Linked DNA regions of Homo sapiens: region 2 is linked to region 1. Evidence: promoter capture Hi-C in 16 types of primary human blood cells and fetal thymus (Javierre and others, 2016). All regions are on one chromosome and are shown on one strand. Each heading gives the region's core, a stretch centred on a gene start or on the middle of the fragment in contact. The rest is flanking DNA. Distances are from core to core; before and after follow the strand shown. Region 1 holds the start of UGT8 (UDP glycosyltransferase 8). Region 2 overlaps ANK2 (ankyrin 2).

What was found. Contacts are between HindIII fragments. The CHiCAGO score rates a contact against its expected background, and 5 or more counts as called.
Region 2: a fragment that was not itself captured here is called in contact with the fragment with the promoter of UGT8 in region 1 in 1 of 17 cell types (endothelial precursors); the score reaches 5.9 in endothelial precursors.

The regions. Positions count from the first base shown.
Region 1 is chr4:114,595,235-114,602,257 of GRCh38, forward strand. UGT8 (UDP glycosyltransferase 8) reads left to right here and starts at 3,573. Exons shown (of 6, transcript NM_001128174.3): 1 at 3,573-3,740. The HindIII fragment of the contact is 2,701 bases long and covers 1,970-4,670 here.
Region 2 is chr4:113,207,433-113,214,117 of GRCh38, forward strand. The region is part of intron 4 of ANK2 (ankyrin 2); the gene reads left to right. It also overlaps the pseudogene RPS26P25. Among named protein-coding and RNA genes, the nearest start is that of MIR8082, 58 kb to the left of the region's middle. The HindIII fragment of the contact is 3,235 bases long and covers 2,391-5,625 here.

The sequences.
Region 1 (7,023 bases), core at 2,323-4,822:
AGCTAGCTGCAGCCATACAGCTGGTCCTATGGGCTGTATGCAGTGTTCTAGGTCTGGTTTTTCCCACACTCGCCTCAGAGCACACAGTGCATGCTAAGAGATCTGTGCCTCCCCATGTCACACCCCGCATTGGTCTCTCCTGAGACTGTCTCACACACCTCCCCCGTCCCTGAAACTGTTTTCCTTTCTGACTGACGTGCGAGCCCCACCTGCATCTGGTGTCGGTTAGGGCGTGAGTTTTGTCTGAATCAATGGGCCTCTCCCATTGTCCCAACCCCCTCGGGTCAGATCAGTCATCATGCCCTGGGAGATGATCAGGCTCCCCTTCCGTCCTTATGGGACGGGTCTTGCCTTAGGGCCCAAACTTTACCGTGGTTCAGATGGCTGTGCGCTGCTCCCGTGACCATCCTGCAACCCCTTCCACTGGTTCCATTTGTGCTGTCGGGGGAAGGCCCCAGAACGCGGGAGGGCAGTTCTCCTTCTGGGCTGAAACTCTCCTGGTGGTGCCAAGGACCCCAGATCTCCCATGTCCTGGGGCTGTAGCCCACAGGCAAAGGAGACAGAAAATGTTCCCTCTCCAATCCCGGATGAGCCCCCAGAAATGTTACAAGACAATCAAAGACTGGAGAGACTGAAAAAGGTTCAGGAGAGTCTATTAAGGTGATCACCGGCCCAGCCGGACATATGTCCAGAAAGTATGAGCCCCAAACTAAGGGCTTTTCCTACTTTTAAACATTTTAAGGCAGGAACTACATGAGGTGGGAAGCAAGTTACAGAAGCGAGAAACAAAGGCAGTTAATCAAGCATTACAACATTTCTTACATCTTGAGAAAAACATGTCTTGCAACCTAAACTTATTGGTCTTGTGACTGCAGCTGTGCAGGAGCTTGCTGGCCTGTAATAAACTTGAGTAATTTGGAGTTGGGGAGTATAGATAAGGTCCACTGTCCACAGAGACAGGACAGGCTGTTAACATTCTCCTTTAACTTGAGTGTAAGGGGGCAGGGATCACACTTTGCAGAAACTTTAAGAGGATTTTAAAATTTCTATTACTACTACTATTAAGTTACGTTTGATTTCATTAATTTCTTCTTCAAATTCTAGGAAGTCTGATCCCAGAGTTAATGGTGAATGATTACAAAACTTATATAATATCTCACATATGGTTGTTTATATTTTCCAATAAAGTTATATGGGGTGAATAATTATAACAAGTATTTCTGAAAAAAATAACAATTGAGAATACTGATATATATAGTCCACAGAAATAATGAGGGAATTTTAATACCATACTCCACATTGGCTGAAACTTTCTCACTGCAGGCTATGCTGTCCCATTCAACATTCTATAAACTAAAGATGATAGGGAGAATCTTGTTTAATCTGAATGGGAGCTTGAAGGATACATTAAATATGGAAAATATGCATCCTTCCTTAAAGAGAAGTAGCAAATGTTTTCATTATTCATTTATTCAACCACTTAGCCAATAATGTTAACAATTAAAGGTGGGAGCATTAAAAAAAGGAAAAGTGGGGTGGGGCGGTGAAATGAACCTCACTGATTTCTTGCTTTTATCATTTCAAACTCCAAAAGTGTATTTCAACTATTCATATGATGATTGAATAAACTTGTTTTACATTATGGAACACCCTTACTGTGTAGAGCTGTGAGAAATTCAATAATCAGTATTTAATGTGGACAAAAATAGATAGATTAGAGAAACAATAAACATGGACATATCTACACATAATATATACTCCTTTTCTATCCAAAAATCTGACAAAAACCTTACACAATGGTCAGTTTACACCATTTTAAGGACAAGGATGTGGTGAAACAATTTTAAACATTTTTATATAATAAAAGAAAAAAGTTGTTTTAATTGCTAATGATCAAGTTTTTACCAAGAATTTACATATGCATCATCAAACAGTAGCTTGAAACTGAAGCTTGACCTTTGAGAAATAAAGCTTTTAAAGTAAATGTCTAAATTCTCTTTTCTTTATTATGTTACATTTCATTTACTTTAGGTTTTCTAGTGCAATTTAAATAAGAAATAAATAGAGAGTATGGTAATCAGGTACAAAGGCTGTGAAAATATTCCCTGCATTTTGCACAGGGAATATGTTCAAATTCCTAATCTGCAAAGAAGAAAAGTGCATTTTCTTTTTTGAAATGGCATTTGAAGATCTCTCCATCCATGAACATTCTTGAGCATATGGATTTTACAATAACAGCAGTGTATATTAGTTTTTTAATTTATCATTAACTGATAACATATACAGTAAAATATAATTTCCGTTTTCTTATCTAAGGGCAGAAAATCCCAACCTATTTCTGAATCTCACTTTGGAACAAGGACAGAATGACCTGACATGGCATTTTTGATTTCCAACGTTTAAACGCATAACGTTTGTGTGCTATGGAAGCATCTTAGCTTCTGGAATTTATGCTCGACACGAAACATAAACAATAAACAATTCAGTCCACGTTATATAGACATATCTCATATATATATGAGATATATATATATAAAATATCTTACGCACATGCACACTTAGACTTTCTCGGTTTTCATGAAACTCACAATCTACCTCAGGCGCTCAAAGGCACTCGGCCTCTCAGGTCTGAGGCACCACAGAGAGGCTTCCTTGGGCACAGTTGCTTGCTGGTCAAGACGCCAACTTGGCAAGGTTATGCTGCTGGCAAAGGCAGATTCGTCAGAATAAAGTCGCCACAGGCTCAACCAGGCAAATCATGAATGGCCCTTTCAGCAGGAGCCTGAGAGGAGGGATGTTATTCAGCCCAGCAACCCTATTTACTTTTTTTCAGGATCCCCAAACTCGCGTTTTTTAAGGCTTTCCGCTACAAGAGAGCCAGAATTGAAGCCTGGGTTGGCGGCAGTGCAGGTACCTGCTCACCTAAGCATCCCTCTTTTAATTTTCCTAACTCCTCCACCCACTTGCCCAAGTATAACTTTTGAATGGATTCAGCAGAAGTGAGGCAGGAAAGGCAGGAAGATGAGAAAAGGCGCGACATCAACACGCAGAGCTCACTGAGCCGCCTTGATGATAAAAGGCGGGCACAGGGACTACGTGGGTGGTGGCAGAAAGGGCGCGGGACACGCCTCGCAAAGAGGGAAGAGTGGGCGGGGCCACGTGCCGTTGTCAGAGTTCGCAACTCGAGCGCCCAGAGGGCTCGCGAAAAGTCCCAGCCTGCAAGCCAACCTCGCTCAGCGGACGACTGGCCGGATCCCAACGCGCTGCCCCTTGCCCAGCCTGCGAGCGCGTGGTACGAAGGCGCGTCTGCATCCATGCCCCAGCCCGGGGAGCTGGAGGCGCTCGCAGTCAGAGGCGAGTGATGCTAGGCTGAGCGCGTGGCGGCCCGTGTCGTGCCCCGCTGAGCCAAGTGCGGAAGGGCAGCGGCGCGCTCCGACTCTGCTCGCCGCACGCAGGGCGGGGCGCGGCTGGGGGGCGGGGGGCCTGGCCGCCCGCTGGGAGCTGCGGACGAGCAGGCGCGCTGAGGACCCGAGGGAGGACACGGTTAAAGCATTGCTATCAACTGTGAACCCAGAGAGCCCTCCTTAGCCAACACGCTAACTCCGAAGCCTCCCTTACGCCCCCGAACCACCGAAGGCGGCGACACCTGATTCAGCGCACAAACACAGGTCCCTTCTGTCCCGGATACAATTACGCGGCAGACACACACTCAAACTCGCGCGGGGCAGCCAAGAGACGAGGTGAGCGGAGGGACCACGCCGTTCCAGAGGGCGGAAGGGGGGGCGGTCTGGGTGGAGGAGAGGGGCGTTGTTTGCTCCCTGAGGTGAGTGCCGGGCGAATGGCTGCTGTCCAGGGGCGGGGGGGTGGGAATTAGAAAGCACAGACAGGGTTGGGCTGAGGAAGTTAGAAGTGGTTAGTGGGGGTTGGCGGGGTAGGGAGAAAGGCTAGGGGTTGAGGGGGTGTGAAGGAGATCTTTTTAGGCTGGCCCCTCATAGCGCCCGCGATCCTGTTTCTGCCATATGGCATCCGTTCGAGGGTTCTCTCGCGTTTGTGCGCTCAAGGCAGAGGGAGGGTATAACGGGGAGGCGATTCGGCCGAGGACCTTGTACTTGACCCCTGAAGGGATGGGCACCGCGGAGCCCAGAGGCCAGAGCCAGCTGCCAGGGCAGGGATGGAGGTGGGGGACCAGGAGGAGCTTCGGGACCTCTTCAACTCCCCTTTACTCCGTCTTCCCCCTAAGGAGGAACAAGAGCGGGATGTGTTGGGGGTGGGGAATGTCTTGGGGCTGTACAAGCTCGCTGAGACTTTTCGGGGCCCGCCGTTTCCGCGTGCCCGCGCGACTCTCGACAATGGACAGTGTACAGTGGTGGCAGGGTTTCACGGGTCCCCGCGCCGATTTGGGAATGGTACGGGGTGCCCTTGCATTAGAGAAGCCTGTGCGGGCCCCCGGGATTAGAGAAGAGGTGAGCGCCTGCGGGCGGGGAGAGAAGGACGCGCTGCTGGCAAAAAGAAGGGCGCCTTCCATGGACTGGAGGAGCGGCGAGGGAGCCTGGTATGTGTGTTTTGGATTTGAAGGAGGCAAACCGCATCGGAGAGTGCAAGTAGATGCAGTGCGTCGGGGCAAAAGGACAATCTGAGGAGGTGGGCGGGGTACCCAATCTCTATATACAAGCTTTCTGGTTTAATTGAGGGTTTATAAAATTGAGTACGGTAAACCTGCCATTGTGCAGCACTTCCTTAGGAAAGGAATAGCCTCTGTACCTGTACCGCGAGTTCCCATCACCTTTCAGCATCTAGGCGGGGAGAGGAGAGAAGGTAGAGAACTTCTGAGAGAGTTCTGAGAACTAACGCGAATGGCTGGATTGCGCTAACTAGGCGTTCTTAGCAGGAAAATGTCGCCAAGGGAAGGAGTGGGTGGCGGTATCAAACCAGGCGTGCTCTGGAGAATCACCTTTATTATGAGCCAGTGTTAGCAGTGACGATAGAGTCTTTTATTTCTGGGGATCCTATTGGTAAAAATTAGAAAAAAACCACACTACTCCAAATACTCCAAAAATCTTCAGTCCCCTCAGGCTGTCACCTTGTACTACCAGTTTTTCAGTATCAATGACGTGAATGTTAGGGAGTTTGGCTAGATGCCAAATTGTTATCATTTCTGATAATTTCATGTTCAAAAACGTCTATATTCACTCAAAATTGGCGTGCTTCTGACATATCCCCAGAAAAAAATCACCACCATTTGAAGGAAGGATAGAAAGTGCCCTTTTTTCTTTTCTTTTTTAAAAACTTTTATTTTAGGTTTTGGGGTACATGTGAAGGGTTGTTACATAGGTAAACACATGTCACAGGGGTTTGTTTTACATATTATTTCATCACTCAGTTATTAAGCCCAGTACCCAATGGTTATCTTTAACCAATATTTTAATAGTGTTAAGAGTAACCATACTTTGTCCCCAGGAGATTTTAAAATTAGAGTCATGCATCTTAATATTATATGGTAAAGGAGACCAGAACTTTGTGTTACTTGAATTAAATCTTAGCCAGCTTAGTTTTCTCCTATAGAAACTGTCTCTTGGTGGTTTGAGGTTTTGCTTTAGGAATGTGTCTGTGTTCAGCAACTCTTCTAGATAATGCCAGAGAAAAACACTCTAGTATTGTATGATTTGCCTGCCACCTACAAGGTTAAGTTGACATCTAGTGTTGTGTGACTTAGTATTATACAAGTCTTTAAAAACTACAATAAAGCATAGTGCCCCGATATTTAGTAAAGGCTTGATACTCTATTAGGAGGTTGGGCATAACTGAACAGAAACTATACTTCTGACTTTTTCCAGGTAATACTACTATACAGGTTCAAACTCTTTTTAAATCTAAGATTTCCAGAGGACTATGCTTGTTGTATTTAAGCTTGGTACGCGTCTTAGAATAAATAAACCAATGCAGTAAATAAAGATGCTTATGACAATTTTTTTGGATAAAAACTACTTTTCGTTTAAAGATTTTGACAGTTTACATTTCCCAATAATTTAAATTAAAACATTTTATTGCACCTTATGAACAACTATCAGCTTCATTACCATTTAAATATTGCTAAAAATCCCATCTTCAATCCTCAAATCCTTTTTAAAATCATGCACCTGTTTATCAAATAATATCAATTTGTTGCTTTTTAATTCATACTAGGATTTTCCAACATACACCTGGGAATTTCTAAGATATCCTTGGAGAGTGAGAACTTTGATTATTTATGCAAGATATAGTATCTCATTTATTTGACCTCATCTGCATTGGTACTTATTTACATAAGCACATTTTCTCGGTAGCTGACTCTTCACACCGTTTATTACTGAAACTTAAAAAAAAAGAGCCATTATAACCCACAAGCAATTTCTAAATCTTACTGTCTTCCTTGTTCCCTTGGAGAATATTGGATATAAGTTATTCTTTCTTGTTGGGTTGTCTTTATGAATTCATAAAGAATTGAATAGTGCTATTCGCTGAGGTGTATAGAGCTGTTTTTGTTTATAGTAAATGGTCTCAGCCTGCTGGGTTGAAATACTAGAATAGAGACAGAAGTACCATTCTTCTTTTTATGTTTTTTTTTTTTTTCTGGGTCCTCTTTCTGTTATTGGCTATCACTTTCTGCTGCTGTCAGACTGTGAGTGGGCCCTGCTGCTCTATTATCTGTTGTCTTTTTTTCCATCAAATGATGTGGGCTATTGCCCGAGTGTAAATCCTGTAGACTTTGTGACAGACACTTTCAGTTTACGTGCTTTATTTGTGGTTTGGACTGTGAACTGAAATGTTTAGGTTTCCAGAAGGGTGACCTCTATATAAAAGGTTTTAATGTACCTTTTATAGAAAAAATTTGTGTATGAGATCTTTAGGAGGGTGTATTAATTTCAGACAATTCAGTCTTCTGGAATATCTTGGTGTTTCTGAGAAACTGAAGCAGCCTTTAAAAAAAAGTTTACTTTCTTATGATAGGCCCAGATCGTCTTTGTTTAGGAATATGTATACTAG
Region 2 (6,685 bases), core at 2,758-5,257, 1.4 Mb before region 1:
AAGTAAATGGTCTCCAAGTTCTGTTAATAGAAATAGACTTCAAATTTTACATAAGAGTTACTTCTTTTTCTCCCCTTCTGAGTTAAAATGAAAGATAAGCTACTCTGGTAGTAAATGGTTAAAATAGTACTGTAGCATTCTGCTTCTTACCTCAAATCTAACAGCATTAATGTGTATATTCCACAACAACTAAGAAGCTAGGTGAAACCATCAAGAACCAAAATGGTGATCCTTTGAGGCAAGGATCACAAAGCAAAAAAAAAAAAAAAAAAAAGAAGAAGTAAAAACATGACACGAATTAAACTTTCCAATAGAAACTGATTGGAAGTAATAATTCACGCACTCACTCACTCAGCAGGTATTTGGGCATCCAGTGTGTGCCCTCGAACACTTGCTAAGCCTACAATGATGAGGTGGGCAGGGGGCATGCGGAAGAAGACCTAGGAAGTGGTAACTGAACTTCTTTTATAAAAGAAAGTGTTAATGCGCACATCAGCGGTCAGGGGATGAAGTGTGCTATGGGCAAATACAATCATACATGCAAGAACCTAAAAGAAATGGGCTATCTGGAAGCTGAAACATCCAGGGGAAATGCAGTGTATGAAATGAAGCCTGAGGAAGAAAGTCAGATCCTGAAAGATTTTATGAGCCATATTAAGGTTTTCGTTCTAAGACTTGTATCCTAAGCCCAATATGAAGCTGGCTTGGGGGTGGAACAAGCTCAGGATTCTGTTTTGGATTCTGAAAACATGACCCTGGTGCAGCTTGGAGAACAAGTCGAAGGGAGTCAGGTGCAATGCAAAGCAAATCATTTGGAGACCGTTGTCATGATCTACTCCATATAAGAGGTGATGTTAGCTTGGAATGGAGTAGTAGTGGTCTGGATGATGGAGAAAAGGGGACTGTTATAAGACTGATTAAGGACCAGTTTCAGAGCACTTGATGATGATGGCCTATGGGAGGAGAGGAAGACGATAGTGTCAATAGATCTCTCCCTTGCCTAACAGTATAGATGGTAATGCAACACTATAATATAAAACAGTGCATAAAGACAAAGATTTGTTTGTTTATTTTATTTTATTTTTTTTGAGATGGAATCTCACTCTGTCACCCAAGCTGGAGTGCAGTGGCATGATATAGCTCACTGCAGTCTCAAACTCCCAGGCTCAAGCAACCCTCCTACCTCAGCTTTCTGAGTAGCTAGGACTACAAACATGCACCAACATGCTGAACTAATTTTTTAAATGTTTTGTAGAGACAGGGTCTTGCTATCTCGCCCAGACTGGCCTTGAACTCCTGGGTTCAAGCAGTCCTTCCACCTCCACCTCCCAAAGTGCTGGGATTATAGGCATGAGCCACTTTGTTTCTGGTTTTGTTTTTGGTTTTGGTGAGGAGAGTAAGAGATCATGAATAGCATTTGAACTGCTTGTTATACATCCCTAAAAGAAATATAAGTGGTTATTACATCATTTGATGTAAATGGTTATTAAAGCAGTGGACTCGAATGAGACTGCCGGAGCAGTAAAGACAGTGAAGAGGCAAAGGGCATACTTCCCCTTCATCCTCTGAAGGCTGGCTAAAAATCAACTAACAGAAAGGCAGATTAATAGGAGAAAAGGAATACAAATGGATTAACATACATGGGAGCCATACAAAACTATAACAACTCAAATAAATGGCCAGATGATTGACACTTTTATACCATTTTGAGGATACAGAAAGAATAGGGGCCTGGAGCATGGCAAAACAAGTTATGGGAGGGGGAGAAGGCGAGGTCTAGCTAACAAAGGAGGTCTTGCTATATAGATGAAACCTCACCAGTAGTAGTAGCCCTTGGAGAAAATAGATGGTGAATGTTTCTTTCAGACCTTTGAAGATGTCAGACTCTCAGTTCACTTTTTCTAGATCCAGACAAGGGAGGGCCCACAGAGAAAGCCTGGCTGCATCAATGCAGATTCTCTACAGATGCAAATCTCCCCCACAGGACAGCTTTGCAGGGCTACTTCTTTTTGTAGGCCCTCTGAACGGCCATCTCAAAATATGTCAAAGAAGAATATTTGTTATCGAACCAAACTGGGGCCCACTCGCCCTGTATAGCAATACCAGATATCCACACCAAGGTTTTCAGCGGGAGAAAGGAAGGTGTTTATTGGCAGGGTGCCTAACAAGGAGGATCAGGCAGCTCATGCTTAAATCCTGACCTCCCTGATGGCTTGCAGGTAAAGATTTTTAAAGGCGGGGGTAAATTTCAGAAAGCAGAAGTTACAGGCAAAATTGTAAATCAAAACATGGAGGTTCCACATTGGTTTTGGCCTAAAAGGTCAGAGTATCTTGAAGCGGAGGACTTACAGGTCACAGATTTTCTGATTTGCAGTTGGGTAAGGAAGAGAAGCTTTGTTTAAAAATGTAGGGTCAGCAGAAAAGAATGTTAGCCTGGGTTCATGGGCATGACTTTTTTCAGGCCCCTCAGGAGGAAGTGTAAAACAAAGAATGTTGGCCAGAGTTCAGTCCTCCGTTCCCCCTTACCAGGGGCTTCTGTGCCAGCAGATCTATTTGGTGGGGGTCTGGGTTTCTGAGACAGAACTCAGAGACATATGTTAAGATGTTAGCTTTTGTGCCTATAGGGGAACCAAACATCTTGTGATTCTAGCTTCCTTGGCTGCTATTACCTTCTTGCTCATCAAGTTTCTTATTTACTTCTCAGGGTTAGCTACATGCCTGGAATTCCCCTTGAAGGAACTCAAGATTTTCCTTTATTTCTATGCTTGGGGAGCCTGCAGGTCCCTAAGAGGGGATCCCTGCTCTGTCTTCTATTTTGGGGATAAAATATTTTGGTTTCCTTTACCAGCAAGAGATAGAAGAGGGTTTATGTTTTAGGGACAATTTTCACATTGAAGAAAATAAGATGAAGAAAATTTGAGGCATATGTCAAAAAAACTGAAAAAGTTATAATAATTGACCAGAGGACTTTGGGTCCTTAGTATAAAATGAGTAAAAAGTAGCAGGCTTGGAAGAATTAAAATGAGAGCTAATCAAGTCCAGTGATATCAGCATTTGATTTAAACCTGGACTGTCTTCAGTTTAGCACTGGTTAGAAGCAAGAATCCAGAGTCAGATAAACTAGATTTAAGTACTGCTTCCATCACTCACTAGCCTTGTGACCTTGGACAAGTTATCTCCCATTTCTGTGCTTCAATTTGCTTATCTGTAAAACAGGTAAGGAATAATTACAGTACATAAAATTGAGTTTTTGTGAGGGTTGAAAGAAATAATTATGTAAAACGCTTAACACAATCCTTAGCATATAGGGGCACTCTACGTTAGTTGCTGTTGTTATATTTATTATTTTCATTGTTAGCTTCATGAGCATGGGAAGGCTATTATACTACCTTTGTGGGAAGCACGAGATCAGTTTTTGTTGGTTCTTTAGGTCCTGAATTACTTTCCCTCCCTATTTATTAGATTTATTGATTCTTAGGAATAAGAGGACAAGGAAATCTAAATTCATTCAAATAATTCAAATCTAAATTTGCATTCAAATAAAGAATATTGCACTCAAATAAAGAATATCAGAAAGAAGCAGAGGAGAGCAGTGGAAATAAGTATTGCTCAACAAAATCTATAAGGACTGTTGATAGAAACCTGGTAACTTAACTGATGGAGAAGAGAGATGAAGAATAAACCAAATTCTATACATTCAACTGTATCAAGATAGTCAGATCAGAGATTTGGAACTTCTATTCACAGACAATTATAATCTGCCAGACTAGGAAAGGATTCTTGCATCAATGTGAGCACAATGTATCGAGCTAATGATAATTTGTGCATCATTCTTGTTCATAACTCACTAACATTTGACAATTGGACCAGGTGCAAAGGCTTGAGAGGTGGCAGCTCTTTTCCTTCTTTCACGTAATGTGCCATTGATTAATAATCAAACAGCTTGCATTTTGGAGTAAGTCTCCACAGACAACATCATCTAAGATGGATGTTTTGGTGTTCTTCCTATTTCTTGAAGTTTTTTTTAGAAAGATCTCAACCTTCTAGGTTAGCATTGTGCATTGTGTTTTGACCAAAAATTGTGGAAGCAATAAAATGTAGATAGTGTTTTAACTATTTTGAAGACAACTTTTCCGTAAACAAATGCAAATATTTTGCTTTACTTGGGGGGTGTGAGAGCCTCTTACATTCTTCACATATTATACTCTTAACTAAATCACTTCAGTGTATAACTGGAAGGGGCTATTAGAGACATTGTGTCCATAACACTTATTACAGGAATTTGAAATTCACAGGGTCAAGTGTCTCATCCAAATTTGTGTCTTCTGATATCTGGCTAAATACTCCATATGTTTGTAACATGAATATATTCTATTTTAAGCAATCAAAACAATGCAAAAGTATATGGAGAACAAACCTAATTCTCCATTCCCAACTTTCAAGTACAATGGCCTTTCTCAGAAGTATTTTTTTTGTTCCTTTCTATACAGTTAAATTCTCTTTATGCTATATTATCTTGCTTTATAAACAATTACATCTTTACTGCTCCTTAATGGAGTTCTCCAGTTATATATGTCTAAAATCCTGAAAAGCGTGACAATATTTATTGACAATATTTTATTACAGCTTAATACATAATTTGCATAGATGTCAGGCATTGCTTTCTTCATTTTATACAGAGGAAACTGAGAGTTTAGGTAACTGCCTATGTACCAAAAGTGATTTGATTTAAACCCCAAACTTTGATTAATTACATAATCATTCTTGAAAGATGAAAATTGTAATCTGTATTATATCTTATTTTTTTCAAAGTTTTCATATTTGGTGCAATTACTAATAACTTTTTTTCAGATATTATTCTTTAGTGTTTATTTCCTTTCTTAATTGGGAAGATATGCAAAGCCCAGTAATTGACTAAACATGGTAAATATAAATTTGAATGCATGTACAATACAGTTAGCTATAGCTATTAATACCTATCTATGTGTAATAATTGGAATCCTCTGGTTATTTCTACTCTTTATTTCTACTCTTAAAGCTATGAAGAAGAAGTTTTTAAGACTTTAAAATGGCCAGCGATCTCTTTTGACATTGACTGAGGTAGGCAGCATAGTGAAATGGATAAGAACGCAAATTCTGAAGCTAGGTGGTCAAATCCCAGAGGTCAAATTTCAGCTCTTCTGCTTTCTACTCATGTAACTCATGAGCTATTCTGCTTTCTACTCATGTAAATGTGTCTCAGAGTTCTCATCTGTGATAGGGGGATCATAATAACAGTACCTTCAGCAAACAGTTGTTGTGAGATTAATCCATGTTCGGCATTTAGAACAATGCCTGGCAATTCTAAGAGCTCAATGACTGTTAGCTGTCATTGTTACCAAATTCAGCACTAGTGCAGCCATGCAAGACCAGCCATTCTGTATGCCCACTGCTGCCTTTTCTTGGCACAATGAAGAACATAACAAAGTCAGTTTGTGTGACTGGCTTGTTTCACAACCTCCTTAGAACACTGTCAATTTGAGTATATGAAATTGCATTCACCTAAACACAATGCCTAAAGACCCTTAAGTAATTTAATTGTTAAAACACTTATAGTATAGACATTGATCTCCTACTGAGACTTGAAGCTTCAAGCTAATGGGAAAAAGAATGAAGATTCTCATCTTAGATAGTCTGGATGGTGAAAATAGAAGTCCAACTAACAAAATGTGTTTTAACCAAATATTATTTTTGAAAATCACTTTCAGAAGGTAATTCTAAGTCTGGAAAATTCTAAATGGAATATCACAAACCTAAAATGTATTGTGTTTACATTTGCTTGTGTCATAATAGTAAAATGATTTTTGAAGTGTCTATAATATAATATACCTTAGAACAAAGTATCAGTGAAGCTAAAGTCACAAGTTTAAAAATGTGAAGAACCAATTTTAAGCTGCTATTTAAAAGATATCTAATGTTCTTGATTATATGGGCTAGGTTTCTATAAATGTAAAGTTCCATGCAACACCTGCTATTTGGGCAAATACTATGTGGGCAGCTGTCTCAAATATAAGTCTTGAGAAGGGCTAATAGGTCATACTTTTATGGGTCAGTGTAGTGTTCCCCTATAATATAAATCTTTGATTCAATATTTTAATATTCAAGTGATTCATTAATATATGCAAATAATTTACATTGATTTAATTTAAATTTTAATCTGCAAATATGCCCTCTGGAATCAGCCCGATATTCCTAGTTGGCTAGTTTTAAAATTTTAAAATTAATTCCAGATTAAATAGATCAATAGATTAAATGTTAATAATTGTTGAAAAGCATCCAACTAGGAATATCAGGTTCTTTGCAGAGGAAACGTTCCAAAAACCACTGCAAACATCAGTATTCTCATTAAAGGCAGTAACAAGAAAAGGATTCCTGTTTGCGATACTATTTGACATTGCAATCAATCCCTAGCCAGTGCAATGAAAAGAGAAAGAGAACTATGAATATAAATGGAAAAAGAAACGACAAAATGCTGTTTTATTTATTTTTTTTTTTTATTTTTTTTTTAAGTACAATTTCCATTTTATTTTTCTCCAGAGAATAGCCTGTCTTCAGTCTTTAAGAACTCAGCTCCTTACATGGGCTTTGGTGGGGGACGTGGGGCAGCACCCGCAGGTCTAAATCGGGGTGGGGGTGTTCGGTCCTT